2 separate regions of the Homo sapiens genome follow, and region 1 is linked to region 2. The links are contacts of gene promoters, found by promoter capture Hi-C in blood cells and fetal thymus (Javierre and others, 2016). All regions are on one chromosome and are shown on one strand. The core of a region is centred on a gene start or on the middle of the fragment in contact, and the rest is flanking DNA. Distances in the headings are between cores, read along the strand shown. Region 1 overlaps DAW1 (dynein assembly factor with WD repeats 1). Region 2 holds the start of DNER (delta/notch like EGF repeat containing).

The links. The method cuts DNA at HindIII sites, captures the fragments that hold promoters and counts their contacts. A CHiCAGO score of 5 or more calls a contact.
Region 1: a fragment that was not itself captured here is called in contact with the fragment with the promoter of DNER in region 2 in 4 of 17 cell types (total CD4 T cells, naive B cells, fetal thymus and 1 more); the score reaches 11.0 in total CD4 T cells.

The regions. Positions count from the first base shown.
Region 1 is chr2:227,876,153-227,878,938 of GRCh38, reverse strand. The region is part of intron 1 of DAW1 (dynein assembly factor with WD repeats 1); the gene reads right to left. Among named protein-coding and RNA genes, the nearest start is that of DAW1, 5.9 kb to the right of the region's middle. The HindIII fragment of the contact is 4,250 bases long and covers 1-2,786 here.
Region 2 is chr2:229,713,229-229,715,928 of GRCh38, reverse strand. DNER (delta/notch like EGF repeat containing) reads left to right here and starts at 1,374. Exons shown (of 13, transcript NM_139072.4): 1 at 1,374-1,781. The coding sequence starts at 1,506. RefSeq lists enhancers at 1-691, 692-1,466 and silencers at 1,304-1,363, 1,434-1,543. The HindIII fragment of the contact is 4,517 bases long and covers 1-2,381 here.

The DNA.
Region 1 (2,786 bases), core at 286-2,785, 1.8 Mb after region 2:
TGGCATGCCTGTAATCCCAGCTACTTGGGAAGCTGAGGCACGAGAATCATTTGAACCCAGGAGGCAGACATTGCAATGAGTTGAGATTGTGCCATTGCACTCCACCCTGGGCAAAAAAAAAAAAAAAAATTAAATTTAAATTTAAAAAGTAAGAGAAAAACAAGAAAATAGAAAAAAATGATAGGGATCGACATATTTTCTTCTTCATTTTGTTAGAGACAGAGTCTTGCTCTGTTACCCAGGCTGCAGTGCAGTTGTACAATCATCACTCACTGTAGTCTCGAACTCCTAGGAACCCATGCCATTCTTCTGCCTCATTTTCTTGAGTAGCTAGGACTATAGGCCCATGCCGCTATGCCCAGCTAATTTTTTAATTTTTTGTAGAAACAAGATTTCACTATGTTTCTCAGGCTGGTCTTCAACTCCTGGGCTCAAGCCATCCTCCTGCCTCAGCCTCTCAAAGTGCTGGGATTAAAGGCAGGCACCACCATGCCCAGTTGATCAACATTATCAGAATATAAACCCTTGAAGATCAAGATCCCTAAAAAGCTATTTGAAAATTCAAGAAAGATACATACTTTAAACATACAAGTTCTGTATCAATGCAAGGTGTCACTATCATCAAGGGAGTGTTTCTTTCTGTACTATAATTTTAGATTTTTTGCATTATATATGAGGGTATTTACTATGTGCTATTTATTATTGAGGAAATAAATGCTTGAGTAAATAAATGATGTACACAATGAATAAGCAATAAAATAATAATCTGTAACTCAGAGAAAGGTTGGAAAGAATTAGCACTTGGCAGTCCACAGAGTATGATCTAATACCCTAAGGAAATGCATTTTTAACATTTTAGCAAATAAGTTAACAAAAGTCTGCTTTCTTTATTCACTACTTGTTTGTAATAAAGTAAAAAGGTTCGAAGTCTTCAAGCTGACTACTAAAAATTGGTGGGGATGCTGTACAAATGGATCTGGAGAATACACTACAAAATTGAAACATGTACGTTTGACTGCTTCGCTGTGACAAAACCTCTAGGCCAGGGGTCCCCCGACCCCACTGGGCCCTGGACCAGTACCAGTCTGTGGCCGTTAGGGCCCAGGCCACACAGCAGGAGGTGAGTGGCGGGCAAGTGAGCATTACTGCCTGAGCTCATTCAGCCTCCTGTCAGATCAGCAGCAGCAGCATTAGATTTCCATAGCAGCAGGAACCCTATGGTGAACTGTGCATACAAGGGATCTAGGCTGCACACTCTTTACGCAAATCTAACTAATGCCTGATGATCACAGGTGGAACAGTTTCATCCCAAAACCATCCCCCTGGTCTGTGGAAAAATTGTCTTCCATGAAACCAGTCCCTGGTGCCAAAAAGGTTGTGTAACATTGATCTAGGCAATATGTTCATCCCTCTCATGATTACTGAGCTCCAATATGAGCAAAAGGCTGTGATATGTGCCATGAAGAATAAAAGCAGAAAACAAAGAGTCCGGGAGCAGTGGCTCACGCCTATAATCCCAGCACTTTTGGAGGCCAAGGCAAGTGCCTCACTTGAGTTCAGAAGTTTGAGACCAGCCTGGCCAACATGGTAAAACCACATATCTACTAAAAATACTAAAATTAGTTGGGTGTGATGGCACATGCCTGTAATCTCAGCTACTCGGGAGACAGAGGCAGAGGTTGCAGTAAGCCAAGATTGTGCCACTGTACTCCAGCCTGGCTGACAGAGCAAAACTATGTCTCAAAAATAAAAATAAATAAACAAAGATGCTGCCAGAAATACATGCTTTTCTTCAGTGACTGTTTCCCACAGTATCTTAATAATCTTGATTTTCCCTTGATTGTGCATTATTCAATAAATATAATTCCCAAAACACTTAGGTAAGAAGCCTCTATTCCTCAAATTTTTCAGTATATTAAAAGGGCATGCTTCAAATGATATTAGTATTCTTTACTTAGATTATATATTCAATCAACAGAAACCTTTAAAATGCTCAGAATGTTAACTAGTTTAGTTAATGTTGACTTAATTCCTTCTCCTGGTCTGAGAACTATGGACTTCACACAATAAATGAAATACAAAAATTGTCATAACTGAGTTAGCTGAAAAGCACATAGTCAACACCCACTCTCCCCAAAGCAAAGAGCTTATGAATTAATAAATGTGACCAAGATGAAAAGGAATGTCCCATGTTTGGTTAGCCATGTCACTGGCATGTACATTTAGCCTTTGGGAATGTAGGTAGGGAGAGGGATAATTCAGTAGATAGCAGCAAGACAATGCCCCTGACCTATACGTTATTCAAAAGAAAGTGGGAGGGCGAAAATTAGAGGATTAGGAGGCAAAACAAAACTGCTCTATATGCAGAAGGGATAAAGGTAGCACGGGAATGATTCAGTGGAATAATTTTTCCTATCTGATAATGCTATTATTGAAACACCCACCTGCTATTCAGTAGTATCTTGGAAACTTGCATATGATTTGGCTCACCAAAGACTGGAATTCAGAAATTAAATGTCAAGCATGCTAAGTAATATGACCTCATTATAAGATAAGCATTAAGGCAATAGTCGCAAACATGAGTCAAGAGAATTACGTGAGCCTAAGAATCCTAGGCTTGGCCGGGCACAGTGGCTCACGCCTGTCATCCCAGCACTTTGGGAGGCCAAGGCGGGTGGATCACGAGGTCAGGAGATCAAGACCATCCTGGCTAACACGGTGAAACCCCGTCTCTACTAAAAATACAAAAAAATTAATTAGCCTGGCGTACTGGCGGGCGCCTGTAG
Region 2 (2,700 bases), core at 125-2,624:
ATTTTAGGTATCTCCTGAAGCAGAAAAGTGTGACATTTGCTTCTGCGTTTGAACAGGACAGGGAGAAGCCGTGCAGTTTGCCTTCTGTTTCCACTGGAGGACTTTTAGCAATCCCTGGCGTCTGTGACACCTACAGCAGAAGTTCACATGGAGTCCTTACTTTAATTTTTTTAAAAAACAAAACAAGCTATTTTTGTGTTTACTAAAAAAAAAATTGGCCCAGACTGTCAATCCAGGGGAATCACATTTTCTTTTTTCATTTGGCCACCTTAAAAAGAAGGTAACAGGTACCTGGGAACCCACAGGTAATAGAGATTGTGAAAGGTCAGGTGGAGGAGACAAGGCTGGATGCGCTTTATTCAGCGGAGTGCAGCCTCCTTGGCGGTCGCAGCACCAGCCAGCCCAGCCAGGACGTGTAGAAGAGCCCGCCCCCCCCATCCCCTCCGAAGTAGGTCACAGCGAATGCTCCTTTTATGCAGAGTCCCCTGTTGCGATTCCTGCCGCTAGCAGCGCCTCTGCCAACCTGGGCTTTTGAACTGTTCTTTCGGGCGTTCTGGGCTGGGAGTCAATTGACCCACTGGATTCGAATCCAGACTTTCTGGGCCTCAGTTTCCCCCTAGGTTCAACGACAGGGGTGGACAGCCTTACACCAAGGCCTCTTCCCGGCCTCACACGGCGCGGCCAGACGTTCCTTAGTGGTGCGGCAAGGCCCCGCGCTCTGGAAAGGGCCGGCGAGAATGAGACAGCTGGGTCAGCACCAAGGACAAGGGCCCCGGGTCCGCCTGGCGGAGGCGAGGTCACTTCCAGGCGAACCCGGCTGCTGAGCAAGCGTCGGGCGCAGGGTTCCGTGGCCGGGCGGGAGGGCTTGGGGTGCCGGGAGAAGCGCTGTGGGAAGGGGAGCAGTCCCGGGGGATGAGGCAAGGCCGGGCCCCGCGGCGGTCTCGCAGATTCTGCGCCAAGAGGCCAAAGGTGGCTGCTGCGAGCGCGCCGCCCCTCCCTTGAGGCGCCCTGCCGCCTCCCGCGCCCTGCCCTGCCCGGGCCTTGGGGCGCACTCGGTGCTCCCGGCTCTGGAAGCCCCTCAAAGCCCCGCTTCCCTCACTCGTGGACCTCTCCAGCCCCTTTCCTGCCCCAGCGTCGCCTGGCTCCCTGTACCAGGGCTGCTTCTGGACACACCCGTGACTTCGACCCACTCCTGGGGGATGGGGTCCCGCATCGTCTTCCTGCAACCCCCATCCCAACTCCCTGCGGGGAAAGAGGCCCCACTCCCCGATGCTCCAGAGCCGGGGCCGCCAGGCGCCCCGCCCCCCGCTCGCCCCGCCCCGCCCCGCCCCGCAGGCCCCGCCCGCCGTTGCCCGGGGAACCGCGGATCCCGCAGCTGCAGGAGGCGCCCGGCCCGGCGGAGCAGCCCTAGCCGCCACCGTCGCTCTCGCAGCTCTCGTCGCCACTGCCACCGCCGCCGCCGTCACTGCGTCCTGGCTCCGGCTCCCGCGCCCTCCCGGCCGGCCATGCAGCCCCGCCGCGCCCAGGCGCCCGGTGCGCAGCTGCTGCCCGCGCTGGCCCTGCTGCTGCTGCTGCTCGGAGCGGGGCCCCGAGGCAGCTCCCTGGCCAACCCGGTGCCCGCCGCGCCCCTGTCTGCGCCCGGGCCGTGCGCCGCGCAGCCCTGCCGGAATGGGGGTGTGTGCACCTCGCGCCCTGAGCCGGACCCGCAGCACCCGGCCCCCGCCGGCGAGCCTGGCTACAGCTGCACCTGCCCCGCCGGGATCTCCGGCGCCAACTGCCAGGTGAGTGGAAGCGGCGGGCGCGGTGCGGGGCGCTGGTCCGGGACCAGCAGCCTCTTCCCGCCGGCCCTGCTGCTGCTGCCCGACAATGGGCACGCCTGACACAGGCTTTCCCACTTTGGGAAGAAGATGGATCCAGTCTCTTGGCCCGCGTGGACGCGGACCCCCGGGCCGACCCTGATTCCCTTACCCGCCCTGGTTCCCGGGCGGGGCCAGCCGGGCTCTCGGGGTGTGCCGCTCCGGGGCTCGGCACTTCTCGCGCGGGGCTCTAGACGCTCCGGTTGGCCACTGAGTGGCGCGCCCCTCCAGGCCGGGCCGAGCCAAGAACCACTTGAGCGGTGCCCGCCTTGGCAGCGCGGAGGAGCCGGCTCCGAGCGTCCCCGGCGAGGTGTTCAATGTCCAGGTGGTCCACGCTCCACGTCCGGCTGGACCCTGTGTGTGTAAAGGGTGTGCGGTGTGGGAGGCAGGTGATGGTGGGCCCCGTGCCAGGTGGTGGGGCACTTTCTCCTTCTCTTCCTACGCCCTTGAGGGCTGTGACAAAGCAGCCAGAGGACGAGGAGGGCAGCTGCCTCCCCTCGGCCTGCGACCAGCCCTCTCTAAGCTTAGGAGCAGTGTTGGAACAGTCGGAGGCATTCGAGGGGGCATTGTACGTGGCGCTGGCAGGGCCGCCCTTCCTGCCGGACGCTCCACGGGGCGCACGCTTGGGGCTGGCAGCCGGGGCGTGAGCAGGGCACCGGGAAGCCGCCAGAAAGCGTGGGGGCGGTGCGAGGGATGGGACGATGGGATGTAGCCAGCAGCCGCCCGTGAATTTGGGGTTTTCAGGAGAATTTGGCAGAAAATAATATCTGGGGCTTTTACAAGTCCGTTAAAGCTCTGTGAAACCTATTAACATCAACATTTCCAGTAGGCAATTTGGTAGGAC